5 separate regions of the Homo sapiens genome follow, and regions 2, 3, 4 and 5 are each linked to region 1. The links are contacts of gene promoters, found by promoter capture Hi-C in human tissues and cell types (Jung and others, 2019). All regions are on one chromosome and are shown on one strand. The core of a region is centred on a gene start or on the middle of the fragment in contact, and the rest is flanking DNA. Distances in the headings are between cores, read along the strand shown. Region 1 holds the start of LAMC3 (laminin subunit gamma 3). Region 2 overlaps LOC124902288 (a long non-coding RNA gene). Region 3 overlaps LOC124902288 (a long non-coding RNA gene). Region 4 overlaps NUP214 (nucleoporin 214). Region 5 holds the start of ABL1 (ABL proto-oncogene 1, non-receptor tyrosine kinase).

Evidence for each region. Contacts are between HindIII fragments. The study calls those that stand out against the background at their distance.
Region 2: a contact is called between a fragment that was not itself captured here and the fragment with the promoter of LAMC3 in region 1, in 2 of the 25 tissues and cell types used here (dorsolateral prefrontal cortex and hippocampus).
Region 3: a fragment that was not itself captured here is called in contact with the fragment with the promoter of LAMC3 in region 1 in 3 of the 25 tissues and cell types used here (aorta, spleen and thymus).
Region 4: a fragment that was not itself captured here is called in contact with the fragment with the promoter of LAMC3 in region 1 in 2 of the 25 tissues and cell types used here (liver and thymus).
Region 5: a contact is called between a fragment that was not itself captured here and the fragment with the promoter of LAMC3 in region 1, in 1 of the 25 tissues and cell types used here (thymus).

Annotation. Positions count from the first base shown.
Region 1 is chr9:131,005,670-131,011,360 of GRCh38, forward strand. It overlaps LAMC3 (laminin subunit gamma 3), which reads left to right and starts at 3,505. Exons shown (of 28, transcript NM_006059.4): 1 at 3,505-3,918. The coding sequence starts at 3,546. The HindIII fragment of the contact is 10,117 bases long and covers 1-5,691 here.
Region 2 is chr9:130,790,083-130,795,773 of GRCh38, forward strand. The region is part of intron 2 of LOC124902288 (a long non-coding RNA gene); the gene reads right to left. It also overlaps a transcript of ABL1 not described here. Among named protein-coding and RNA genes, the nearest start is that of ABL1, 42 kb to the right of the region's middle. The HindIII fragment of the contact is 3,606 bases long and covers 1,834-5,439 here.
Region 3 is chr9:130,809,229-130,814,919 of GRCh38, forward strand. All of the region lies in intron 2 of LOC124902288 (a long non-coding RNA gene), which reads right to left. It also overlaps a transcript of ABL1 not described here. Among named protein-coding and RNA genes, the nearest start is that of ABL1, 23 kb to the right of the region's middle. The HindIII fragment of the contact is 5,337 bases long and covers 1-5,095 here.
Region 4 is chr9:131,206,134-131,211,824 of GRCh38, forward strand. All of the region lies in intron 30 of NUP214 (nucleoporin 214), which reads left to right. Among named protein-coding and RNA genes, the nearest start is that of FAM78A, 68 kb to the right of the region's middle. The HindIII fragment of the contact is 7,607 bases long and covers 1-5,691 here.
Region 5 is chr9:130,832,641-130,838,331 of GRCh38, forward strand. ABL1 (ABL proto-oncogene 1, non-receptor tyrosine kinase) reads left to right here and starts at 2,614. Exons shown (of 11, transcript NM_005157.6): 1 at 2,614-2,885. The coding sequence starts at 2,807. It overlaps LOC124902287 (a long non-coding RNA gene), which reads right to left and starts at 2,188. Exons shown (of 2, transcript XR_007061822.1): 1 at 2,079-2,188; 2 at 54-1,825. RefSeq lists enhancers at 1,669-2,195, 1,838-1,887, 1,908-1,957, 2,196-2,721 and silencers at 2,358-2,667, 3,138-3,187. The HindIII fragment of the contact is 5,982 bases long and covers 29-5,691 here.

The DNA.
Region 1 (5,691 bases), core at 2,255-4,754:
ATTTATGTTCAAGTGGTATTTCTTTATGGCACCGAGGAACAAGCATTTCTAACATTATCATGGACACTTTATGACTTTCCTGGACCCTGGGCAGTTTTGCCTTAGCGGGCTCCTTTATTTATTAAAAAATATTAAAAATTCTATTTTACCGAGGGGAGAAGGTTATAGAGAGTTATTGTTTAAGAGGACAGAGTTTCAGTTTTGCAAGATAAAAAGTTCTGGAGGCCGTGTGCAGTGGCCCACGTCTGTAATCTCAGCACTTTGGGAGGCTGAGGCAGGAGGATCACTTGAGGTCAGGAGTTCGAGACCAGCCTGGCCAACATAGTGAAACCCAGTCTCTAAAATAAAAAAATTAGCTGGGCATGGTGGCAGGTGCCTGTAATCCCAGCTACCAGGGAGGCTGAGGCAGGAGAATTGCCTGAACCTGGGAGGCAGAGGTTGCAGTGAGCCAAGATGGCGCCACTGCACTCTAGCTTAGGTGACAGAGCAAGACTCCATCTCAAAAAAAAAAAAAAAAAGGTCTGGAGATGGATGGTGGTGATGGTTGCACAACAATGTGAATGTGCTTAATATTATTTAATTGTAACTTAAAAGTGGTTAAGATCGTAAATTTTATAAATATGTTATATGTATTTTACCACAATTATAATTTTTTTTTTTTTTTTTGAGACAGGGCCTCCCTCTGTCACCCAGGCTGGAGTGCAGTGGCGTGATCTTGGCTCACTGCAACCTTCGCCCCCTGGGCTCAAGCAATTCTCCCACCTCAGCCTCCCAAGCAGCTGGGACCACAGGTGTATGCCACCATGCCCGGGTAATTTTTTGTATTTTTAGTAGAGACGAGGTCTCACCATGTTGCCCAGCCTGGCCTCAAACTCCTGAGCTCCAGCGATCTACCCGCCTTAGCCTCCCAATGTGCTGGGATCACAGGTATGAGCCACCGTGCCTGGCACTAACATTTTTAAAAATTATATTTAACCATTGCATTGATCTAAAGACGGGTATATTAATATCATACGTTAAAACATGTTCTTCAGCCTAAAAGTTCTTTTTTTTCTTCTGACTTTAAAGATATTAGAACAGTTTTTGTGGGTTCCTAGAATTCCTGTGGGCTGCCATGTTTCCTGTGCCTGATAGATGAATTTGCTTTGGATGGGTGCACAGCCCAGCTCAGGGTAGCTGCGTGGACCATCAAGAGTCTGCTGCAATCATGTTCTTGACCATAAGAGAAAACTTTAACAAAGAAGCTTCCATAACACCATCAAAAAAACAATTTGGAATTACATTAAATGATATTTTAACTTGGGGAGAATTTGTATATTTAAACAGTTGGAAATCCGTGAATATAGATGCTGGTCTCTTCAGGTTTTCTGTCTCTCAGTAGCATTTTATAATTTGATTCATTTATATCTTGCACATTTCATACCAGATTTATTATTAGGTGTTCTACCATTTCCTACATCATTGCTGGCATCAGTTTTTTGTTTGTTTTGTTTTGTTTTTGTTTTGTTTTTTAAAAAACAGGGTCTTGCTCTATTGCATAGGCTGGAGTGCATTTGCGTGACCTCGGCTCACTGCAACCTCTGTCTCCTGAATTCAAGCGATTCTTGTGCCTCAGCCTTCCAAGTAGCTGGGATTACAGGTGTGCCACAATGCCTGGCTAATTTTTGTATTTTTAGTGGAGATGGGGTTTCACCATATTGCCCAGGCTGGTCTCGAACTCATGACCTCAGGTGATCTGCCTGCCTCAGCCTCCCAAAGTGCTGGGATTACAGGCGTGAGCCACCGCACCCAGCCAGAAAATGCCTATTGCTGGCATTGGTTTTCGTACTCTATCCTGTAGTCAGCCATCTTACGGAGCTCTTATTAATTTTAATAGTCTTAGTAGAATCTTTTAGATTTTCTAGATGTATGTTCAGGTAAGTAGAAGATATAAATATTTATATCTTTTAAGTTTTTTGTCTTATTGTATTAGCTAGAACTTCCAAAATAACCTTAGGTACCAGTGGTGATATCATATACTAACTCTACTTAGATATAGTTCTGAAATCTCTAACTTATTCCATGGGTCTATTCTGTAGTCCTTTCCACAACCGTATTGTTTTAATCATGTGTAAATAACTGGTAGTGAATCAGCCCACTACAGTTCATCTTGCTTCCAAAAATTTTCTTTCTTTCTTTTCTTTCTTTTTTTTTTTTTTGATGGAGTTTCTCTCTTGTTGCCCAGGCTGGAGTGCAATGGCATGATCTCAGTTCACTGCAACTTCTGCCCCCCGGGTTCAAACAATTCTCCTGCCTCAGCCTCCTGAGTAGCTGGGATTACAGGCACGCACCGCCACACCCAGCTAATTTTTGTGTTTTTAGTAGAGACGGGGTTTCACTATGTTGGCCAGGCTGGTCTCGAACTCCTGACCTCAGGTGATCTGCCTTCCTCAACTTCCCAAAATGCTGGGATTATAGGCGAGAGCCACCGCGCCAGGCCAGGAAATTTATTTCTATTTTCCTTAGAGTTCGTCTGGGAATGGCTGCCTTTTTTTTTTTTTTTTTTTCGAGACAGGGTCTGACTCTGTTGGCCAGGCTGGAGTGCAATGGCATGATCACAGCCCACTGCAGCCTAACCTCCCGGGCTCAAGGGATCCTTCCACCTCAGCCTCCCAGGTAGCTGGGACTACAGGCTTGTGCCATGACGCCGGGCTAATTTTTGTATTTTTTTGTAGAGATAGGGTCTCACTATTTTGCCCAGGTTGGTCTCGAACTCCTGGCCTCAAGTTATCCTTCCGCCTCCACCTCCCAAAGTGCTAGGATTACAGGCGTGAGCCACCGCGCACGACCTGGCTGCTAAATTTTATCGAATGACTTCTCTCCCTCGATTTGCTAATGTTAATAAATGGGGAGTAAAGGGGGCATTTATGGGGGTTGGGGCAGAAGACAAGGAAGCCCTCTCTGAGGTGACATTTGTGATAAGACCAGGTACCCTTGTCACAAATGTCAGGTTAGAATCTCTTTGCTGTGGGGACAGAGCGCAGCCGGCAGCAGGAGTGCTTTTCAGGGTTAAGGGCGACAGGAGCTATGCGGAGCCATCTCACAACCCTGTCCAGGGCACACTTTATTGCTAGGAGGAGATGCGCAAACGGTAGCGATCAGTTAGAGATAGATCCTCTTGTCCCCTTTTATCTCAGGACTCCAAGGCACTGCTGAACAGTTTCTGTTTAATGAGCAGCCATTGAAGCCTCCCAATGGCGAGAATGAGCCTGCATCTTTACCGACCCCACTCCACAGACGAGGAAACTGAGGCTCAAAGAGGCCCGGGTCGCCTCTGGGGCAGACTCCCGAGCCGCGCACTGCCGGGCACGTCCAGCAGGTGGGAGTGGGCGCCCGGGGACGGCGCGGTCCCTGGTATTTTTAGTGGGGTGGGGCCGCCGCCGCCCGCCCCTCCCTCCAGCCTCCCCGCCCCGCAGGGGAAGGCGGGTCCTGGCGGCCAGCGCGCGGTCCGCGCCCACCCTAGCCGAGCGGGGCCGGCAGAGCGCGCGGCGTCGGTGCCCTTGACCATGGCGGCGGCTGCGCTTCTGCTGGGGCTGGCGCTGCTGGCACCGCGGGCGGCCGGCGCGGGCATGGGCGCGTGCTATGACGGCGCAGGGCGCCCGCAGCGCTGCCTGCCGGTGTTCGAGAACGCGGCGTTTGGGCGGCTCGCCCAGGCCTCGCACACGTGCGGCAGCCCGCCCGAGGACTTCTGTCCCCACGTGGGCGCCGCGGGCGCGGGGGCTCATTGCCAGCGCTGCGACGCCGCCGACCCCCAGCGCCACCACAACGCCTCCTACCTCACCGACTTCCACAGCCAGGACGAGAGCACCTGGTGGCAGAGCCCGTCCATGGCCTTCGGCGTGCAGTACCCCACCTCGGTCAACATCACCCTCCGCCTAGGTAAGCGCGGGCTGGGGGCACCGCCACCGCACCCCGTGTCCCCACTCCACTGGGGGTCTGAGGCTGAGGCCTGAGCTGCTGTGCGCCCAGGTTGGGCTGCAGGACCCAGATATGGTGTTGGATGGAGGGGCTCAGAAATAGGAATTAGGCTGGGTGCGGTGGCTCACTCCTGAAATCCCAGCACTTTGGGAGGCCGAGATGGGAGGGTCGCTTGAGCCCAGGAGTTCAAGATCAGCCTGGGCAACGTAGTGAGATCCCATCTTTACAAAAAATAAAGAAAAATAGGCCGGGCGCGGTGGCTGACGTCTGTAATCCCAGCACTTTGGGAGGCCGAGGCGGGCGGATCACCTGAGGTCAGGAGTTCGAGACCAGCCTGGCCAACATGGTGAAAACCCGTCTCTACTAAAAATAGAAAATTTGGCCGGGCGTGGTGGTAGGTGCCTGTAGTTCCAGCTACTCAGGAGGCTGGGGCAGGAGAATCGCTTGAACCCGGGAGGTGGAGGTTGCCGTGAGCCGAGGTCGCACCACCGTTCTCCAGCCTGGGCAACAGAGCTAACTCCGTCTCAAAAAAAAAAAAAAAAAAAAAAAAAAGCTGGGCGTGGTGGTGCACACCTATGGTCCCAGCTACTCAAGAGGCTGAGGCAGGAGGATCACTTAAGACTGAGAGGTTGAGGCTGCATGAAATATGATAGTGCCACTGTGCTACAGCCTGGGCTACAGAGTGAGACCTTATCTCTTAATAAAAAGAAAGAATGAAAAAAAGAAGAAAAAAAAACAGGACCTGTACCCCTAGATAGCCAGAAGGATAGACTGAGGGGTGCCCCGTGGGGCGGGAGAGGCAGGGAGTCACTTGCTGAGCTTTGGTTCTAGGTTGCAATTATAATCCCCTGTAATGGTTTTCCATCCTAGACCAGAACTGTTGGGGAGGTGACACACCAAGGACTGAATTGGTCACCCTCTAGGGCAGGGGCTCCTGATCTTGGGTCTTCTGGTCAACTTCAGGTATTCAGTGGACCCCTGAAGCTGCCTGCAGTCCTCGGGTGGGTTCTGGAAGATAGAAGCTGTGATGTTCATCACTGCACAGGCAAAGTTTAACCCTCTGGGGAGGAGGACTAAGTTTCTTCGTGCTGCTGGGCAGCTGCGCCCGGTGGCATGGCCTCTCTGCCCTGCTCATGACTTGCCGAGGTGCAGAAGCCCTTAGATCTCCAGGAATCAGAATCTGGAGTCTGGACCCAGCCCCGGTTCTCAGCCCCTGCCCCCACTGCAGGGAGCTGGAATGCTCTCTCCTCCCTCCGTGTTCAGCCCGATTCCCATGTCCTCTGTGGCCGGGTAAGCGCCAAGTGTCTTTCCTGTTGCAGCCTCCACTGCCCTTTCAGGAGGGGCTGGTATCACTGGTTAGACTCCCTTATCTTCGAGGTCAGCCTCCCAAAGCTTTGAAAACTCAAATTATTTTTATAACTCATTTTTGCTGCTAAACCTGACCTGAGGCTATTTATAAGCTATGTTTATGCTAGTGAGAATGAATATTCATTCGCTTTGCTACTGAAATCTCATTTGAGTACAGCCGGCAGCCCCAGACCCCACTGGGGGTATTAGCACAATATATGGTATAAGGCCTGCATCGTCTTTCTAAAAGCTGAAAAATGTTCAATTCCCAAACACATTTGGAGCCTAGGAGTTTGGATTAGGGATGATGGGACTGTATCCCATGTTTCAGCTGAGAAAATTGAGGCTCAGAGAGGTTGTTTTGCCCAAAGGCACAGAGCTGCTAAG
Region 2 (5,691 bases), core at 2,387-4,886, 220 kb before region 1:
GGAGGCCCATAGGCCATGTCTAAATATTTAAAAGTTACAAATGTGACAGACTGTGAAATAAAATATGTCTATACTCCTACCTTGACAAATATGTCTCTCTGATACTCTAGAAGATGAGGTTTAAATGTAGAGTTCTTGAACTCCACAGAGCTCTATGCTGGCACATAGCAGCACAGAGTGAGCCAGACCTTCGCCTGTGGCCCCCACCCTTTTGTCTTTCTTCCCGCAGCTTTATCCATGCTGTGAGGGGCCTCATGCACACATGTGTACATACTTCAGCCTGCATATCTAAGCTGTGTTCACGCTCCTCACAAGCATGCTTGTAGGTGGCAACTCTGGCCTATGCCCGTATGCTGGTGCATTCTACTTTCTTTCATTTTTATTTTATTTATTTATTTATTTATTTATTTATTTATTTAGAGACAGGGTTTCATTCTGTTGGCCAGGCTGGAGTGCAGTGGTCTGATCATAGCTCATTACAGCCTTGAACTTCTGGACTCATGCAGTCCTCCTGAGTAGTTGGGACTACATTAATTACCACACCTAGTATTTTTTTTTTATTTTTATTTTTTGTAGCAACAGGGTCTCGCTGTGCTGCCCAGGCTGGGTTTGAACTCATGGCCTCAAACACTCTTTCTGCCTCAGCGTCCCAAAGTGCTGGGATTACAAGCATGAGCCACTGTGTCGGGCCAGCATTCCACTTTGATAATAGACCTGTGGAAAAGGCCCATGCAAGTCCTGAATGTGGGCATGGATTCAATTAAGTAGGGAATTCCAGGATCCTGGATACCTAGAATATGGTGATCAGACTCAGGGTGGGTGCATCTCCTTGGGCCTTCAGGCCCCTTGCCCTGTGGGGAGAGGTGGAGTCTTTTAAATTATAGAATCTAGGGTAGGGGCCTCTCTTGGAACAGGTTCTAAGGGTGGTAATGAGAGACAAAAATTCTCTGGTTCAGGAAGCCCATCAAATTCCAAAGCGGCAAAGAAGGAAAGGAAAGAAATTCATGTCTAAACATATCAGTAAACCTGTGAACCTATAGAACATCAAAACCAGAAACGATTCTTAAAAATAGGAAGAGAGAAAAGACAGATTACCTACAAAGGAACAACAATTCATATGCCAGCTGGCTTTTCTATACCAAGAGTGGAACTACTGAAACAGTGTTTTCAAAGTAGGCAGTGAAAATAACTGTTGATCTAGAATTGTGTAGCCATGAAACAGCCTTTAAATAATGAGAACGAAGTGAAATAAAGACATTAGATAAATAAAAACAAAAAGAATTTACTGCTGAGAATTCATCACTGTGATGGTTAATATTAGGTGTCAACTTGATTGGGTTGAAGGATTGTTTCTGGGTGTGTGTGTGAGGGTGTTGCCAGAGGAAACTGACATTTGAGCTGGGGGACTAGGAGAGGAAGACCCACCCTCAACGTGGGTGGGCACCATCCAGTTGGTTGCCAGTGCAGCTAGAACAAAGCAGGCAGAAGAAGGTGGGATAAGCTTGCTGAGTCTCCTGGCTTCCTTCCTTCTCCCATCCTGGATGCTTCCTCCCACTCCTCCTGCCCGTCCACATAAGACTCCAGGTTCTAAGGCCTTTGGACTCTTGGACTTGTACCAGTGGCTTGCCAGGGGCTCTTGGGCTTTTGCCACAGACTAATGGCTGCACTGTTGGCTTCCCTGGTTTTGAGGCTTTCAGACTCGGACTGAGCCACTACGAGCTCTCTTTCCCGGCTTGCAGACCTCATATCGTGGGACTTTGCCTTGTAATCATGTGAGCCAGTTCTCCCAAATAAACTCCCTTTCATATATACATATATCCTATTAGTTCTGTCCCTTTGGAGAATGCTGACTAATACCATCACTAAAGAACATCCTCAAGAAGAAGGGAAATGACACCAAGAAGGAAGGTTTAAAATTTAAGACAACATTAAGTTGATCCAGAGAGATGCATTAACTTGCCTAAAGATCACACTTGGTTCAGAACCAAGCCTAGACTTAAACCGAGACAGGATGCAAGAAAGAAATCAAGTTAACGACAGAATTTCATTTTCACCCAGGAAGTAGACACAGGGTCCCTTGGGGCTCATTTTGGGAGAAGGCCTACCTTTTTCCCAGGACACACCACCATTTACACGTCGAGTCTTACAGCCTCCAGGACTTTAAGCTTCCCACTGCTAATGTGTCATTTTTCCTTTCTCTTGCCACTGAGTTGTTTGCTCAACTAGAGGATTTTACTTTCTGCCCTTCAAGTTCACATGGTAGCTCGCATGGTAACATAAGTGAGTCTTGGCAGTGTTGCCAGGGACAGGATGACTTTAATTTCATTCCTCCTCATCTTGATGCTTTTTTTCCCTTTCCAGTTCCCATCAGCTACTTCCCTACCCCTAGTGGTCCTATGAGTCCTTCAGTTCTCCCCCTTTCTCCATGACACACCAGGAGCCATGTCAGATGTGATTTCTGACCTGGGACCCTGAATGGCACAAGGAGAAGAAGTACGGAATTGGGGGAGGGTATAAGAGGGTTTAAGATGCGTGAAAAATGTTGAGTAGGACATTTCAAGAGATAGTTCAAATAATATGGTACCTTTTGTTTACGTCACCACACTTGGCAAATTTGATCGTATGACATCTCATTTGATGTCTTTGAGATGACAGATGTTGTCCCTACTGTAGAGCTAAGATCCTCAGAGAGGTTAAATGACTTGCCTGTAATCACTAAGTTAGAAAGTGGCAGAGCCCCAGAACTACCCCATGCAGCTGCTTTCTAGTTTCTAATCAGGTGCTTTTTCACTAACACCATCTTGCCTCTACAAACTGACGGCTTACAAAATGCTACCAAAGGGTAATACTTTTTATTTTTGAGATGGATTTTCACTATTGTCACCCAGGCTGGAGTGCAATGGCACGATCTCGGCTCACTGCAGCCTCCGTCTCTGAGGTTCCAGCAATTCTATTGCCTCAGCCTCCCGAGTAGCTGGGATTACAGGTGCCCGCCACCATGCCCACCTAGTTTTTGTATTTTTAGTAGAGACGGGGTTTCATCATGTTGGCCAGACTGGTCACGAACTCCTGACCTCAGGTGATCTGCCCGCCTCAGTCTCCCAAAGTGCTGGGATTATAGGCATGAGCCACCGCGCCTGGCCAAGGGTAATACTTTTTAATCAGCCAATAAGATTCACATGGAATTTGCTTATTTTTAGTATTCCTGTCAGTATTGATGGATTTCTTTAAAAGTTTTTTCCATAGATCTATTTGCCCATCACCTCTCCAACTCCTCCAGCATCTGCCCCCTTTCTTCCGCATACATATTGTGATGTCTAACTGGGCCTTAATTATCATGAATTTTAAATTGGTGGTATCCATACTAATCAGGATTTCCTGTAATTGGAACATTCTTCACACTTTTGATATTTGCTGATTGTCCTCTCTATGCATTTTAGAAGTTTCAGACTATTTTTTCTGAGAAATAACTAGAGTCTGTGCAAGCTGTGTCGTACATTTTGACTGCAATTTTAGTACTGAGTGTTGCTTGCTTGAAAAGAGGCAGGTAAACCAAGTTATTGAGTGCAGTTTCAAACACAAGCCACCACTGTTCCATAGATCAGGGGTCCCCAATCCCCAGGCCACAGACTGGTCATGGTCTGTGGCCTGTTAGGAACCAGGCCGTATAGCAGGTGGTGAGCGGCAGGTAAGCAATGAAGCTTCATCTGTATTTACAGCCGCTCCCCATAGTACTCATTACTGCCTGAGCTCCGCCTCCTGTCAGATCAGTGGCGGCATTAGTTTCTCATAGGAGCATGAAATCTATTGTGAACAGTACATGCGATGGATCCAGGTTGCGTGCTCCTAGTGAGAATCTAATGCCTGAGGATCTCTCATTGTCTCTTATCACTCCCAGATAGGACTGTCTAGTTGCAGGAAAACAAGCTCAGGGCTCCCACTGATTCTACATTACAGTGGGTTGTATAATTATTATATATTACAATGTAATAATAATATAAATAAAGTGCACAATAAATGTAATGCACTTGAATCATCCCAGAACCACCCCTCAGTGGCCCCATCCCCAGTCTGTGGAAAAATTGTCTTCCACAAAAGCAGTTCCTGGTGCCAAAAGGGTTGGGGACTGTTGCCATTGGATCATGACACATTACTATCTTGTTGAATTAAACGTTGCAAACTGCAACGTTTGTAACTGCCAGTAGGCAGTTTTTATTTTATTTTTCATTTTTTATTTATTTTTTTACCTGTGAGCCCACATCCATAAAGTTAGCAGACTATGTCATAGTCAAGAGACTTTGCTTTATGAACTAGCTGATTTAGTTTGCTCACAAGCTTTGAAAGAGTCTTTTTTTAAAGGCCAAGTTTAAGACACCTTAGACCATAGAAATATGTGTATTTCCTGGCCATTCGATCATTTGAAGGCCAGATTTTATCAAAACAAATGAATCACTGTTTCTCCTTCCTTCATCATTCCCTAATTGGTTTCCAAAATAAAATGATTAGTGGCTGCATTTCTCAACTGCATTGTTTTGATTACAGTCTTACTGGCTGTATTGGGTGAGACATTGGGAAATGCTTTCATAACTGGTGATCACTGTTGACGGGGTTCCCTGACTTCATAAAGGCCCAGATTATGTTACCCCGAGAAAGTCTTTGAAGGAGCAAGCTCTTTCTTATGCTTTTGTTATTAAGTTAGGGAAAATGACTTTAAATAATGGAACCTTAGTTACAATGTAGGTTCCACTCTTCTTGAGATTTGTGTTACTTTTTAGACATGACAAAAGTGTGCATTTTAGAGTTCCTCTTACCCCAGGAACAATGGACTCACTTGGCTTTCAAAAGGGCAGAATATACTGAGTATTTCTGACTGCAGGTTTCTTCTTTCTGGTACCCTCAAAAATACACCATAAATAGTAGATTAATCTCCCTTTTGCTGTCCGTGAGTCCCTTCCCGTTTCTTCAGCACTGCTTGATATGACTGGTATGGAGGCCTAAAGCTGGCTGGCCTAGTTAGTGTTACCCAAGTGGTTTCTTGTGAGCATCCATTTGCATGCAGTTGGGCCTTTTGTCCATTGGTGAACTGCTCCTTGCCTTGAGGTCCTGTAGCTAGTTTGCCACTGAGTATTTCCTTCAAAAAACAGGAAGGATGCCCTGATATTATGAAGTGGGTGGTTTTAGAATTCCACTTCAGATGGCACTGACCTTTCCTTAATACAGCTGGTTTCACTTAATACATTTTGTTTAAACAAAGCCTGTTCCTGGAAGTGGTTCCAGAATAGTCTGTTCCTTGTAGCTGTTCCTTTGCTCTTAATTTTAAAAGTGTTTTCCCGACAGTATCATATGTGCTCGCACGACAGATTAGAAACTTCTGCTTGAAGTCATCACACTTATGAATTACGTTGTGTCCAGTTATGATATATTGATGATTGTATTCAGTAGCTTGAAGGTTTAAGTGATAACTTTATTTTGCAAAACTGACCACATTCTTTTGTTGCTTAGGTGTCTCCCCTTTAAGGGATTCTGATGTCTAGCAGTCTCAATGGACAAAACAGATAAAAGAGAGAATGAGTATTTTTCACTTTGTAAACATGAACAATTCTTAACAAAAAAGCCAGAGCTGGACTAATTAAATAATCAACATGTTTTAAAGTGGGATAGACATTTCTATTTTAGGTATGATACCACAAT
Region 3 (5,691 bases), core at 1,177-3,676, 200 kb before region 1:
GGGAAGGAGCCACTCAAAAGGATTAGAGAGAACCATTTACGGAGTTCACACAGGGCCAGAAATAGTTCCTGTTCCCAGTAGCAGAGTAGAACATTTCATGATTCAGGGGTATTGATTGGAGTACTAAGAAGAGTTGTATTAGTGAAGGTTCTTGAGAGAGAGAGAGAGAGAGAGAGAGAGAGAGAGAGAGTGTGTGTGTGTGTGTGTGTGTGTGTGCACGTGTGAAGAAATTTATTGTAAGGAATTGCCACGTGATTATGGAGGCTGATAAGTCCCAAAAATCTGCAGGGCGAGTCAGCAAGATGGAGACTTAGGAGAGCCAATGATGTGGCTATAGTCCAAAGGCTGACAGGCTCAAGACCCAGGCAGAGCCAATGTTTCAGTTCAAGTCCAAAGGCAGGAAAAAAGTTGATGTCCCAGTTCGAAGGCAGTTAGGCTGGAAGAATTCTCTTTTACTCAGGAAAGGGTCAGATTTTTTGTTCAATTCAGGCCTTTAACAGATTGAATGGGGCTCACCCACATTAGGGAGGCCAAGCTGCTTTACGCATTTTGCCAGACTAACGTTTGACCAAAGATCTGAGCACGTATGGCCCAGTCAAGTTGACACATAATGTTAATCATCACAAAAGTCTTGCCTCAATAGTTGGGAAAAATTAATCCTAGAATAAATGCTATTCTGGTCTTGCTTAGCAAAGGTTAAGAGCAAGACCAAAAAGATCAAACCTTTTCCAAACAAAAGCTGAAGAATATTTTTAGGGATACAAAACCATCTAGGACCGAGTGTGGTAAAATGCACAATGTTTACCAGCCATTCCAGAATTACTAGGTATGAGCAGAAGTAGTAACATACAACCAATAACTGACCAGAAATGAGACAGATTATATAAGTAGTACATTACAGACATTAGTCATTATAATTGTATTCCATGTGTTCAGTAAGCTAAAGAAAAGATTTAATATGTTAAGTAAAGACATGAAAGATGATGGCTGGGCATGGTGGCTCACGCCTGTAATGCCAGCACTTTGGGAGGCCAAGGTAGGTGGATCACCTGAGGTCAGGAGTTCAAGACCAGCCTAGCCAACATGGTGAAACCCCACCTCTACTAAAAATACAAAAATTAGCTGGGTGTGGTAGCGTGCACCTATAATCCCAACTATACGGGAGGCTGAGGCAGGAGAATCACTTGAACCTGGGAGGCAGAGGTTGCAGTAAGCCAAGATCGTACCACTGCACTCCAACCTGGGCGAGAGAGCAAGATTCCGTCTCCACAAAAAAGAAAGATACAGAGATGAAAAATACACTGAAGACTGTCAGAATAAACATTGCACAAGTAAAGATTTGTGATTTTGAAGACTTAACCATAGAAACTATCCAAAATGAAGCAGAAAAAAAAAAGAAACCCTGAAAAAAATACATGAACACAACATCAGTAAAGTGAGGGACAACATCAGGTAGCCAAATGTGTGTGGAATTGGAGTCCCTGAAGGAAGGGAGGGTATGAGGGACCAAAAAATATATATAGAGAGAGAAAAAAAAATGGCTGAAAAATTTCCAAGTGTAATGAAAGCAGTAAACACACAGATCCAAGAATTTCAAGGAACTCCAAGCACAGGAAACATGAAGAAAAACTATATACTAAGGCACATCTTAAGCAAATTGCTTAAAACCATGGTTTAAAATGGCCAAAGAAAAAGATACATTATATACTTAAGATCAGGGTGACACCAGATTTCTCATTGGAAACAATGTAAGCCAGGTTAACAGTGGAACAATACATTTAAAGCAAAGAAAGAAAACAGTTGTCTACCTAGAATTCTTTTCTCAGTGAAAATACCTTTCAAAAATGAAGGCAAAATAAGGTCTCTTTCAGACTTTAAAAAAAAAAAGGAAGAATTTATTACCAGTAGATATGCAGTACAAGAAATATCAAAGGATGTAATTAAAGCAGAAAGAGAATGATAACTGGTAGAAAACTGGAGCCACCAGGAGTCCCAGGCTGCAGTGAGCTATGATCGCACCACTGCATTCCAGCCTGGGTGACAGAGTGAGACCCTCTGTCTAAATAAACAAACAAATAAAAGAAAACTGGAGCTATAAAAATAAATGAAGACAATGCAAAGGGTAACTAAGTGGATAAATACATAAGATATTTTTTCTTTTTGTTTCAGTCTCATTAAAAGATATGTCTTAGAGGTAATTACACATTGTAGCATTTGTAACTTACATAGAAGTAAAGTTTATGACAATAGCAGCACAAAGACTGGGAGTGGGAGAACAAATATACTCTTGTAAGCTTTTTACACTACATGTGAAGTTGTATAATGTCAATTGAAGGTAGACTGTGATAAGTTAAAGATGCATATGATAAAATCTATAGTAGCAGAGTTATAGCTAATGAGCCAACAACAATAAAAAGTTGGGATATAATCCCAACACTTTGGGAGGCCGAGGTGGGTGGATCATGAGGTCAGGAGTTCGAGACCAGCCTGACCAACAGGGTGAAACTTTGTCTCTACTAAAAATACAAAAATTAGCCGGGCATGGTGGTGGCACCTGCCCGTAATCTCAGCTACTCGGGAGGCTGAGGCAGGAGAATCACTTGAACCCAGGAGGCAGAGGTTGCAGTGAGCGGAGATAGTGCTACTGCACTGTAGTCTGAGCGACAGAGTGAGACTCCGTCTCAAAAAAAAAAAAAAAAAAAAAAAAAAGTTGGGATAAATATCTTTAAATAATCCAAAAGATGGCAGAAAAAAAAACTAAACAGGAAAAGCAAACAGAGCAGATGGGACAAATATGAAACAAAGAGCAAGATGGTAGGTTAAAATTCATATCAATAATTAATTCACCATTAAGGGCCAGGCAGAGTGGCTCATGCCTGTAATCCCAGCATTTTGGGAGGTGGATTAGGAGGATCACTTGAAGCCAGGAGTTTGAGACCAGCTTTGGAAGCCAAGTGAGACTCCATCTCTACAAAAAAAAAAAAAAAAAAAAAAATTAGCCAGGTGTGGTGGTGTAGTTCCACTCAGGAGGCTACGGTGGGAGGATCACTTGAGCCCAGGAGTTTGAGGCTACAGTGAGCTCTGATCACACCACTGCACTCCTCCAGCCTGGGTGACAGCGAGATTCCATCTTAAAAAAAAAAAATCCTCATTAAAAGCAGACATTGTGAGATTGGATAAAAAAGCAAGACCTATTTATATTTATATGCTGTCTACAGTTATCCCACTTTGAATATAAAAATACAAATACGTTAAAAGCAAAAGAGTGGAAAAAGATGTTAATATGTTAACATTAATGAAAAGAAAACCTTAGTGGCATATTAAACAAACTATATTTTAAAATGAATGTCACCAAGGATAAAGGAGAATTATTTCATAATAATAAAGAGATACATTCATCAAGACATAATTCTAAATGTTTATGCATGTATTAACAGAGATTCAAAATACAAACTTTTCAAGGAGAAATAAATCTGTAATTATAGTTGAAGGTTTAACAACTCTCTCACAAAAACTGATAGAACAAGTAGACAAAAATCAGTGAGGATATAGAAGATTTGGACAATATAATCAACTGACTTGACTTAATTGATGTTCAGTAGAACATTCGACCCCTAAACAGCAGAATACACGTTCTTTTCAAGTGCATATGGAACTGTTTCCAAGACAAATCATTTTCTGGGCCATTTTAAAAGCCTCAGTAGACCCGGCGGGTTGGCTCACGCCTGTAATCCCAGCACTTTGGGAGGCCAAGGCGGGCGGATCACCTGAGGTCAGGAGTTCGAGACAAGCCTGGCCAACGTGGTGAAACCCCGTCTCTACGAAAAATACCAAAAATTAGCTGTGTGTAGTGGTGGATACCTGTAATCCCAGCTACTCAGGAGGCTGAGGCAGGAGAATCACTTGAACCCGGGAGGCAGAGGTTGCAGTGAGCCGAGATTGCACTACTGCACTCCAGCTGGGCAACAGTGAGACTCCGTCTCGAAAAAAACAAACAAACAAAAGCCTCAGTGAATGTAAGCTGATTCAATTTGTAGAAAGTATGATCTCTGGCCAGGTGCGGTGGCTCACGCCTGTAATCCCAGCACTTTGGGAGGCTGAGGCGGGCGGATCACGAGGTCAGGAGATCAAGACCATCCTGGCTAACATGGTGAAACCCCTTCTCTACTAAAAATACAAAAAATCAGCTGGGCATGGTGGCGCTCACCTGTAGTCTCAGCTACTCAGGAGGCTGAGGCAGGAGAATCACTTGAACCCGGGAGGATGAGGTTGCAGTGAGCCGAGATGGTGTCACTGCACTCCAGCCTGGCTGAGAGAGCGAGACTCCATCTCCAAAAAAAAAAAAAAAAAAAAAAAAGAAAGTATGATCTCTGGCCACAAGGAATTAAATGAGGAATTAATAACAGAAAGGTATCTGGAAGATCTTTCAAATATTTGGAAAATAACATAATTTTAAGTAAATCATGGGTCAAAGAAAATCAACAGCGAAGTAAGTAAGTATCTGGAACTGAATGAAGGTGAAAGTGCCACATAAAATTTGTGTGATGGAGCTAAAGGGAAATTTATATAGTGCAGATGGTCCCTGACTTATGACGTCTCAACTTACATTTTTCAATTTTATGATGGGTTTTTCAGGATGTAACCCAATTTTAAGTTGAGCATCTGTATCAGAAAAGAACAAAGGTCCCAAATCAATGACCTTGGGGTCCCACTTTTAGAAATTAGAAAAAATGAAGACTAGTGAAACCCCAATTAAGCAGAAGAAAAAGCCAGTGTGGCCAGGCAGGGAGGCCCATGCCTGTAATCCCAGCACTTTGGGAGGCTGAGGCGGGCAGATCACAAGGTCAGGAGATTGAGATCATCCCGGCCAACATGGTGAAACCCCGTCTCTACTAACCATACAAAAATTAGCTGGGCGTGGTGGCGCTTGCCTGTGTAATCCCAGCTACTCAGGAGGCTGAGGCAGGAGAATCGCTTTAACCAGGGAGTCGGAGGTTGCAGTGAACCGAGATCGCGCCATTGCACTCCACCCTAGCGACAGAACGAGACTCCGTCTCAAAAAAAAAAGAAAGAAAGAAAGAAAAAGAAAAGGCCAGTCTGGAAATCAATGAAACAGAAAACCAGTACAGAAATCATGAAACCAAAAGCTAGTTATTTGAGAGAGCAATGAAACTCATAAACCTCTACCCAGACTGATCAGGGGAAAAAAGGGAAGACAATAACTGTAATATCAGCAGTGAAAGAGATGACATCACACAGATTCTAAAGATATTGAAAGTGTAATAACTGAATATTGATCAGCAATCTAGAAGAAACAGATTCCTTGAATGACACAAACTACCAAAGTTCACTCAAGAAGTAACCATCTGCCGGGCGCAGTGGCTTACGCCTGTAATCCCAGCACTTTGGTAGGCCGAGGTGGGCGGATCACGAGGTCAGGAGACCGAGACCATCCTTGCTAACACGGTGAAACCCCGTCTCCACTAAAAATACAAAAAATTCTCCGGGCGTGGTGGCGGGCGCCTGTAGTCCCAGCTACTCAGGAGGCTGAGGCAGGAGAATGGCTTGAACCTGGGAGGCGGAGCTTGCAGTGAGCCGAGATTGCACCACTGCACTCCAGCCTGGGTGACAGAGCCAGACTCTGTCTCAAAAAAATAAAATAAAATAAAAATAAAGTTTAGTAAAATAAAA
Region 4 (5,691 bases), core at 1,332-3,831, 200 kb after region 1:
TTTTTTTCTTTTTTCTTTTTTTTTTTTTTGAGACAGGGTTTTACTCCTGTCGTCAAGGCTGGAGTGCAGTGATGCGATCTCCACTCACTGCAACCTTTGCCTCCCAGGCTCAAGTGATTCTCCTGCCTTAGCTACCCAAGTAGCTGAGACTACAGGTGCACACACTGTGCCTGGCTAATTTTTTGTATTTTTTTGTAGAGACGGGGTTTCACATGTTGCCCAGGCTGGTCTTGAACTCCTGGGCTTAAGCAATCTGCCTGCCTCGGCCTCCCAAAGTGCTGAGATTAGAGACATGAGCCACTGTGCCCAACCCTCTTTTCTTTTTTTTTGAGACAGGATCTCACTCTGTCACCCAGGGTGGAGTGCAGTGGCACAGTCACAGGTAACTGCAGCCTTGATCTCCTGGGCTCAAGCAGTCCTCCTATCAGTTCTCCAGAATAGCTAGGTCCACAGGTGCACCACCACGCCCAACTAATTTTTTCAGTTTTTTGTAGAGATGGGGTCTCACCGTATTGTCTAGGCTGGTCTGTAACTCCTGGCCCAAGTGATCCTCCCACCTGGACCTCCCAAAGTGCTGATGAGATTACAGGCATGAGACACCATACCTGGTCTCATAGTAGAATATTATCCAGCTATGAAAAGGAGCAGATTTCAGCTCCATGTATAACTAACAAGCACAATGTTGAGCCAAAGAAATAGAAAACATCACTGTGATAAACTCCATATTGTTACTTCCCCTTCCACTCCGTATTCTTCCACCACGGAAATTATGTATGCAATTGGAAGGGCCAAAGATTGAAATCAAGGTTTTTTCTATGATGGCAGGGGCCTTATTGTTTTTATTGATTGCTGTATCTCCAATGCTTAGGACTATGTCTGGCACATGATAGGCATTGTGGAAATGAATGAACTTTCAGGTAGCAGAAGTATCCTCAGAAAACTCTAAAGATGCTAGGCAGATTCTGGCTAGGATGTAAAAGAATATAGAAAACCTTCACTGCCATAATAACACCAAGAAAAATCCAGATGATGTAGAAGTCACACTTACTCTGGCAGTATTGGAATTATTTACTGCTGTATAACAAATTGCCTCAAAACCTAGTAGCCTGCAACAGCTACTTATTTATTATAGTCTTGGATTCTGTAGGTCATAACTTCAGATGGACTTAGTAGGGATGGCTTGTCTTCACAGTATCTGTGATCTCAGCTGGAAGAAGGGAAGACTGGAGGCAGGAGTCATCTGAAGGCTCACTCTGATGTCAGTGGTTGGCTTGGCTGTTGGCTCAGACCTTAGCTGGAGCTGTTAGCTGAACACCTACATTTGGCCTATGTAGCCTGGGCTTCCTCACAACGTGGTGGCTAGGTTCCAAGGAGGAACATTCCAAGAAAGAGGAAGAGCCATGCTGAAGCTGTATAACCTTTTATGACCTATCCTCAGAAGTCACAGAACATCACTTAGGCTGCATCCTCTTCATCAAGGCACTCACAAAGTCCCATCCAGGTTCAAGAGGAGATACAGAGGCCGCCTCTTGCTCTAGAAGAGCATATGTGACTAGAAGTATTGCTGTGATCATCTTTGGAAAATATCTGTCATAATGGGACCATTGAAGAGTGGCAGAAAGCCTTGTTGAACTGGTTTCCAGAGAGTGGAGCCCATCATAGGTGTGAGCACTGTGGCACAGCAGCTGCTGGGGGCAGATGCCAGGTCTGGGTTTGAGCAGGTAGTAGAGAGGACTTGCCAAAGACTGAGAAAATGTACTGGCTGGAGAAGGAGCTGTTGGCAGTGATGGGGGCAAGCAAAATAAATGACCAGTAATTACATGAAAAGGTGATCAAGTAGCATTAAACTAATGAGGGAAATGAAAATCAAAACCACAATTAGATAAGATACCACTTCACACCCCCTAGGATGGCTATCATTTAAAAAGTAAAAAATAAAAATAACCAGTGTTAGCAATGATACAAAGAAATTAGAACCCTCATACATTGCTGATGGGAATGCAAAATTGTGCAGCTACTATAGTTTGGTGGTTTCTCAAAAAGCTAAATATAGTACTTCTACCATATGACCCAGCAATTCTGCTCTGGGGTAGAATACCCAAAGGAATTGAAAAAAAGGGATTCGAACAAATACTTGTACATCAATGTTCATTGCAGCATTATTCACAGTAGCCAAAAGGTGGAAACAACCCAAGTGTCAAACAGCAGATGAATGGATAAACAAAATGTGGTATATACATTCCATGGGATATTTTTCAGCCATAAAAAGGAGTGAAGTTCTTGGCCGGGTGCAGTGGCTCACGCCTGTAATCCCAGCACTTTGGGAGGCTGAGGCGGGCGGATCACGAGGTCAGGAGATCGAGACCATCCTGGCTAACACAGTGAAACCCTGTCTCTATTAAAAATACAAAAAATTATCCAGGCGTGGTGGCGGGTGCCTGTAGTCCCAGCTACTCGGGAGGCTGAGGCAGGAGAATGGCATGAACCCAGGAGGCAGAGCTTGCAGTGAGCCGAGATCGCGCCACTGCACTCCAGCCTGGGCGACAGAGCGAGACTCCGTCTCAGAACAAAACAAAACAAAAACAAAAGGAATGAAGTTCTCGGCTGGGCATGGTGGCTCACACCTTTAATCCCAGCACTTTGGGAGGCTGAGGCAGGCATATCATGAGTCAAGAGATGGAGACCATCCTGGCCAACATGGTGACACACCGTCTCTACTAAAAACAAAAATTAGCTGGGCATGGTGAAGCTCGCCGGTAGTCCCAGCTACTTGGGAGGCTGAGGCAGGAGAATCGCTTGAACCCAGGAGGCGGAGGTTGCAGTGAGCCGAGATCACGCCACTGCACTCCAGCCTGGGCGACAGAGTGAGACTCCATCTCAAAAAAATAAATAATAAAAAGGAATGAAGTTCTCATTCATGCTACATATAGATAAACTTTGAAAACCATATGCTAAGGCTGGGCGCAGTGGCACACACACCTGTGATCCCAGCACTTTGGGAGGCTGGGATGGGCAGATTGCTTGAGCTCAGGAGTTTGAGACTAGCCTGGGCAACATGGCAAAATTCCATCTCTACAAAAAAAAAGACCCACAAGTTGGCTGGGCGTGGCAGTGCATGCCTGTAGTCCCAACTACTAAGGAGGCTGAGGTGGGAGGATCACTTGAGCTCGGGAGGTCAAGGCTGCTGCAGTGAGCTATGTTCCTATCACTGCACTCTGGCCTGGGTGACAAAGTGAGAACCCTGTCTCAGTCAGTCAAATTTATTTATTTATTTAGAGACGGAGTCTTGCTCTGTCGCCCATGCTGGAGTGCAGTGGCACAGTCTCAGCTCACTGCAACCTCCGACTCCCAGGTTCAATCAATTCTCCCACCTCAGCCTCTCAAGTAGTAGCTGGGACTACAGGTGTTCACTGTCACACCTGGCTACTTTTTGTATTTTTAGTAGAGTTGGAGTTTCACCATGTTGGCCAGGCTGGTCTCGAACTCCTCACCTTAGGTGATCTGCCTGCCTCGGCCTCCCAAAGTGCTGGGATTACAGGCGTGAGCCACTACACCTGGCCTCAGTCAGATATAAAAATTAAAAACTCAGATTGGGATCTGAAAGACTTGTAAGTGCAACAATAATTTATTCAGCATACATATCCTCCAGCTCTCCCCCGCTAATCCTCCCCAACTTTGCAAAGAAAAAGGAACTAAAGCAGCACTAAAAAGTAGAAAGAACTCACAGGGTCTTACATTCTCCTGTTTTCTGGAACTCTTGTTTGAAAGGTGATACTTCCTCTTGCCTCCCACCTCAGATACTTACAGACCAATAACCTAAAACCTAAGTGGAGACTGTTGGGCTAACCAGAGGTGAGCTCAGTCTTCTTAAATCTGTGACTCTGTTCCAGATCAACCCTTAGTGAAATCTGAATAATTATTTCCTCACTTTAATCAGACGAAATGGGAGCTCTCACTCTCTAGGAAAAGCATTAATGTTCTTCAGTCACCACTGTTCTTCCATAATACAAACATACAGAGCAACCAAAAAAGAGAGTGACACCCACAATTAAATTTTTAAAATCAGCAAAAACCAACCTATAGATGATTCAGATATTGGAACTGGAGACAGACTTTAACTGTCATGTTCATAGGGCTTATGGGAAAATAGTTGAAACAGTGGTTGAATAAGGAATCTCAGCAGAGAAATGGAAGCTTAAAAAAACCAATGGAAAGGCCGGGCACAGTGGCTCACGCCTGTAATGCCAGCACTTTGGGAGGCCAAGGCGGGCGGATCACGAGGTCAGGAGTTCAAGACCAGCCTGGCCAACATAGTGAAACCCCATCTCTACTAAAAATACTAAAATTAGCCGGCATGGTGGCGCGCCCCTGTAGTCCCAGCTACTCGGGAGGTTGAGGCAGGAGAACCACTTGAACCCAGGAGGCAGAGGTTGTGGTGAGCCGAGATCACACCACTGCACTCCAGCCTGGGAAACAGAGCGAGACTCCATCTCAAAAAAAAAAACAAAAACGCAAGTCGTTATCTGTATTTGAAGTTTAAATCTAGTACGTGAAATAAAAAACAAAATAGGCTTAACAGCAGAGTGAATACTACAAAAGAACAGTGAACTCGAAGACGTATCAATAGAAATTATCTAAAATGAAGGTCAGAGAGATGGAAAAAAAATGGATAGAGCATTTCTACGATCTATGCAACAATATCAGGCAGTCCAATATATGTGTAATCAGAGTCCTAGAAGGGTAGGAGACAGAATGGGTAGGATAAATTCACAAAAGAAGTGCAAAACTTATACAATGAATACTATAAAACATTGTTGAAATTAATGACAACCTAAATAAATGAAAATACATCCCATATTCATGGATCAGAAGACTCAACATTTTGTTAAAATGGAATACTCTTAGCTAGTAAATTGTAGAACCAGTACTGAAACCAAGGTCTGTTCAAATTAATTTAATCATTCATATAGGAATTCATGGTGAGTAGGACAGGCAAAGGTGGCTGTGTTCATGGAGCCTCCATTAGATGGAGGGAGTCATTCTTTAATAAAACGGTATAATTTCAGATAGTGTTAAGTACTGTGAAATAAAGCATGATGTGATAATAATTGGGGAAGATGGTTTAGGTTAGATGGTCAGGAAATGCCTCTCTGAAAAAGTCTCATAAATGTCTCTTTTTCTTTTTACATTTTGTTTTCTTGAATTAGGACCAAATAAAGGCCACACATTGAGATTGCTTGCTATGTCTCTTAAGTCTCTTTATGTATAGGTTCCTCTTTCATATCTCGCTTTTGAATTTTTCCTGGTAATTCAGTTGTTGAACAAAGCTGGTCATTTGTCCTGTGGCGTTTCCCATGATCTGGTTTCTGACTGCACAGCTTCCAAGTGAATGCCATCTGTTGCGGGAAGTCAGGGACCCCAAATGGAGGGACCTGCTGAAGCCGTGACAGAAGAACATAAATTGTGAAGATTTCATGGACATTTATTAGTTCCCCAAATTAATACTTTTGTAATTTCTTACGCCTGTCTTTACTACAATCTCTGAACATAAATCGTGAAAATGTCATGGACGTTTATCACTTCCCTGATCAGTACTCTTGTGATTTCCTATGCCTGTCTTTACTTTAATCTCTTAATCCCGTCATCTTCATAAGCTGAGGATGTATGTTGCCTCAGGACCCTGTGATGATT
Region 5 (5,691 bases), core at 1,770-4,269, 170 kb before region 1:
CATGCACATTAAAAATGTATTTCTTCCCAAACTAATGCAACATAGCAAACAAGTTAGTTCACAGTCTTTAATTTCTTTCCTTTTCCCTTTCTTTTTAGCTAATAGCTTTTGGGTCTTAGGCTGATTAGAAGGAATCCTTCTTGGGGTGTTCTTCTGGTAAGAAGATTGAAGCTCTCCTTTATTTGCTTGTAACAGAATGCTCTTCGTATCTTTCAAAAGCGTCAAAAGCTGGATATGGAAAGTATAGGCCAGGTTTGATACAGAAGTGTAGTTTGGCAGTTTTTTCAGTATCCATTGCCACTAATTCAGTATTTTGTTAGATCTGTTGATGTATGGTTTTATAACTAAAATTAAAAAGATTTGGGTACAGTTTATAAGCATTATTCATTTTAAGAGGATTTAAGAGGATAAGATCATTTTAGACTCAAGAGCAGAATATTAGTAATAATAATTAGCTTAAAAAAATAAACATATACCAATATAAAGAACAGCACAAGGCAAGCAAATATCTGGGCCTATATTAACAGACGGTATTCAAGGATATGGCTAGAATTTCCAAAATGCCTAATAATGTGTAATTCTTGGCATTAAGCCGCCAATTTGAATATGGCCCTTTAATATGAAATGCTATATAATGACAGACTTTATTATAGTCTGATCCAAGGCCCCTGAACTTTCCAAAAGGGCAACAAAACAGACAGATACTGTATTTTTTCACTAGTTGGTACTGGTGGCACCCTTTTGAGTGTTATTTTTGGCATTACGTGTAGAGGTTGACAGATTCAAGACAACACTAAACATGTTAGCAGTCACCACACGCAGGCTGTCCAGCAGAATGACAGCGCTTCCCAGATCCTAGAAAGCATCCAGAGTCACTGCACCCATCCCCTGGGGGCCCTGTAGTCCTGCATCTCCAGATGATGGGAGCTGCAAACTTCCCTGATGGTGCCCTCTTGGATGCTCATGAGGCCTGATCTGGTACCACGACTCTAGCAGTAGGTCCATTCAATGGCAGTAAAAATACATGTTGTATGTTGATCAGAATTTGGCAGGACACATGTGGAAAGTTAATGACATCCTGGCCGAGAACCCCTGTGATATACACTGGTTACATCCTGTCCAACTGGAGTTTTTATGTGCTGTTTTTGGCAGAGCCAAGTGAAGATCTTGTTACTTAGCCATTCCTGAGGTACTGAAGATACCCGGGTTTTTGTCATTACAGGATAGGCTAGAAAGTAGCCAGGGTCTCATAACCAAGGCTTTCTCTGAAACATATAATGACAATGCTAGTTATTTGACCAAAGATATCCAATGCTTTAATCCACTTGGAATTTATTCTTGATGTGAAGGGTCAGCATCATCCACTGGTCGGGAGCCTGATCCTTGGAGCCAGGCAGACCTGGGTTGAGTCCATCTCCGCCTGTTTCCAGCTGTGGGCAAGGTGTCTGACTTCTCTGAGCATCTGTGGGGTTTGTTTGTTTTTAAACCTGAAGAATTGGGATAATCTGTTTCCTCACAGAATCATTACGCAGATGCAATACAGTTAATGAAGGTAACATGGCACATAGGAAGAGCACAATACACGTCAGCTCTTACTCTTCATGGCTAGAAGATGTGGACTAAACTTCCCCCTTTACAGTTTTGTGATTAACACCATTTATGAAAGAAATAAATGAAATAAATTCCTTTTCCTGTCATGAGGGGAACTTACCTGATTTTATTGAATTATTTGGTGCCATTGAGTTCCTTATTGTTTCCCTCTGACCTAGATTTCTGGGTGTGCGCCAGTAACACGACTGTGATTGTTGCTGCTTTATAACATTGTCTGTGGTCAGTCCAAACAAGAGTTTAAAATAATTGAATGAAATGGATTTTAAACAATGGTCCCCCCACCCTCACCCCGTGGCACTCGGCCAAAGGAAGAGGAAAAGTTCTCTGTTAAAGAAAATGAATCAGAGAAGAGGCCCAGACCGTGCCTCCGAAAATTCTCATTGTAGGGACTAAGTCCTCTCACTCTGAACTCACACCCGTCTGTTCGCAGCCTGACCTCATATCCTGGTCTGGATGTGCGGCCTCACCGGGGTGTCGTGCGCACGTGTGGTTGTCCTGTGGGTGCCAGCTCTGACTTCCTCCCCAGACACCCACTGCCTCAGCCTTAATCACAGGACGCGCGTTGAGTAGAAATGAGACCAGTTAGTATTGGTAACTGCAGAGGAATATGCATTTTCACCAGCGTTCTCGGGTCAGAGGGTTTGCCTGGCACCGCGTACTGGGAAACTCGCCAAAAGCGGTGCAGGTTGGAGACGCCCCAGGCCGCGGTGGAGTTGCGCGCGGCTTCTAAAGTGGAGTGGAGCAGGCCTGCACCCTCCCCGCCGGGGCTGGGACGGCGCTTCCAGGCGGAGAAAGACCTCCGCGGGCCGCGCGCGGCCTTCCCCCTGCGAGGATCGCCATTGGCCCGGGTTGGCTTTGGAAAGCGGCGGTGGCTTTGGGCCGGGCTCGGCCTCGGGAACGCCAGGGGCCCCTGGGTGCGGACGGGCGCGGCCAGGAGGGGGTTAAGGCGCAGGCGGCGGCGGGGCGGGGGCGGGCCTGGCGGGCGCCCTCTCCGGGCCCTTTGTTAACAGGCGCGTCCCGGCCAGGCGGAGACGCGGCCGCGGCCATGGGCGGGCGCGGGCGCGCGGGGCGGCGGTGAGGGCGGCTGGCGGGGCCGGGGGCGCCGGGGGGGCGCGCGGGCCGAGCCGGGCCTGAGCCGGGCCCGCGGACCGAGCTGGGAGAGGGGTTCCGGCCCCCGACGTGCTGGCGCGGGAAAATGTTGGAGATCTGCCTGAAGCTGGTGGGCTGCAAATCCAAGAAGGGGCTGTCCTCGTCCTCCAGCTGTTATCTGGAAGGTAAGCCCGGGCCGCACGGGTTGGGCTGAGTAGCCGCGCGCCCTCCCGCTGCTGCTGGGCCCTTCCTAGGCCTCGCCGCCCGCGCGCTCCCGCCTGCGCCCTCCCCGGGTCTTGTCTTTTTTTTCTTTCTTCCCTCTTCTCTTCTCTTCTCTTCAGTTCTCTTATATTCTGTCTCTCTTTCTTTCTCTCTGTGTCTGTCTCTTTTCTCTTCTCTTGTCTCTCTCTTTTTCTCTCTCTCTGTCTCTTTCTCTTTCTCGCGATGGCCCCTAGGCGCCGCCGGCGGAGCGTGGCCCCCAGCCCCGGCACCAGCCCCGGTAGAGCCACGCCGGATGGTGACGGCGGCGTCCGGGGCCCCACAGTGCGGGCTCCCCCGAAAAAGTTTGAGAAAGCCAACTCGCCAGGCCTTAACATCCCTGGGATCCCACGTTGTGGAATTTCCACCGTTAATTGGGACTGTGTGTTAAAAAGATCGACCCGTGTTTGTGAAAACATGCGATTTCCATTAAGCATCATGTACACAAGGAGCACCACTCTACCATTTATGGATACAGAATTTCAAGTGATCTTTCCATCTCCCCCACCCCCATCTTATCTACAGACCACGAAGAGGTCTTAGGAATTCGCTCTCTTTTCAGGGGAGGGGAGCCCATTTAAGAAGGCGTTTCCAAGGAGTCCCCCAGAGTACTGGGGTGTCATGTTCGTTTCCTTAAGTGAAGCTCAGGGCCAGGAGGGCTTCACTTTTGCGTTCTTTCTACCTACTCTCCTTCTCTAATTACATCTGTTTTATTTTATTTTTCTTTCCTGTTGTAGTCTTTAGTTTTATAAATGGAAAAAAAGTAAATTAAGGGTTATGGGTCTTCACTTTCGTAGCTTCTAGGTGGGTATGAAATTGATCTGATTTGAGACTGGTGCTCCCAGACCATTGCCTTCAGCAGAAAGGCTATCTGTGCTTCAGAGATGGAGTGGCACTTGGACTTCTCTGTTGTTTTCAACTAAGAATATAAGAGTAAAAATGTGGCCGGGCGCGGTGGCTCAAGCCTGTAATCCCAACACTTTGGGAGGCCGAGACGGGTGGATTATTTGAGGTCAGGATTTCGAGACCAGCCTGGCCAACATGGTGAAACCCTATTTCTACTAAAAATACAAAAAATTAGCCGGGCGTGGTGGTACACGCCTGTAATCCCAGCTACTCGGGAGGCTGAGGCAGGAGAATTGCTTGAACCCGGCAGGGGGAGGTTGCAGTGAGCCAAGATCGCGCCACTGCACTCCAGCCTGGGCGACACAGCAAGACTCGGTCTCAAAAAAAAAAAAAAAAAAAAAAGAGTAGAAAGAAATGTGAAGCTCACTTTAGATCAAGTAGGATTTCTGCTAGAATGCCATGTTTTTCTTTTTAAAAAAGCAGGAGAAATAAACAGGCCTCATTTATTTTCTAACCTATTTTTCTTTCCTTAACCTCTGACTCTACCCTGAAGGCCTGCTTGGAGTCACATATGCAGATCGCACTAGTGATGTGGGTGAAACCTGTTTGCCCTTCTTGCCACAGTTTGTGTACCTCACTCCTCTTCTGTCTCTGGGATTCCAGGGGGCTGAATGGCCCAGAGAAGGCTCATCTAGGTGGAGTGGGCTCACAGAGCCTAGCATTTGGAGGGTGGAGATTGTTTATTTGTCCCTAAAAGTTGATGTCTGAGCATTCCAAATCATCTTCAATTAATACATCGCTTATTTTTTCCAAGTTGCTCAAAATTCTGAGCACATTCTCATTTACATCTGTATCGAGTTAGTGTTAGGCATCATCATCTCCACTTTGCAGATGGGTGCCTAAGGCGGGGATGAATGGACTTTTGTAAGTGCAGAGCTGGAGCAAAGTTTAGGTCACAGCTTTGCCAAGTCATTGTTTTGTTTTCCTGGGAGTAAACCGGAGATTTAGTATGGACCTGGCTGGTTTAATTATTGTTTTGGGAAAAAAATCTAAAACTCATTCCAACATGTCTTGAAATGAATTATAATGTTGACTCTAAAGTCTCAAAAAAAAAAAAAAGTTCTAGTACAGCAGACTGCCTTGGGTTAAACCTTCTTCTAGGAAGGTGTCACTCTAGGAATTCTTTCTTACTGAGTTTTCTTCTTTTCGTTGTTATAGTTAATTAGAGAAAGTAAATGGAATTATCATTTTGTAGTTGGTAGACTTTAACAAGCCTCAGCGATAGTCTTTTAAAGACTGGAAGTGCTATTTGTCTTTTGGGAAAAATAGTTCCTAACATCTGGATGAGTAATCCAGGCTTTCCACTTTCACTGACAGCCTAAATCAGTCAATCAGTGTCGATCAGTCAGTCAGTGTTTATTGACGCCCACTCAGGGTCCCAGGCATTCCCTGTCAGGGAGAGAATTGAATGAGATCAAGTTTTTCATTGTTCTATCAAAGAAGCTTCCACCATAAATGTGGTTTGATGGTGCATGCTACCTGCTACTCAGCCTAGCTGTCAAAGCAACACTGGTAAACATAAAGATGGCTAGCAATTATTAAATGCTTACTATGTGCCAAATACTGTTTTATTACTCTATGTGATCTGATATAGTTATATTTCATGATAGCACTATGATTATTTCCATTTTATAGATGAGGAAACTGAGTCACCAAAAGGTTAGGTAACTTGTCTAGGGTCACAGAGCCAGTGAGTGGGGGTACTGGAATTTGAACTCATGCTATCTGGCTTGGGAGAGCCCACTTTTAGCCACTGGATGCTCTACTGATGTCTCTTTTGGAATTCACTGTGATTTTCAAAATGGTATCTCCAGAAACTCCTCCAAT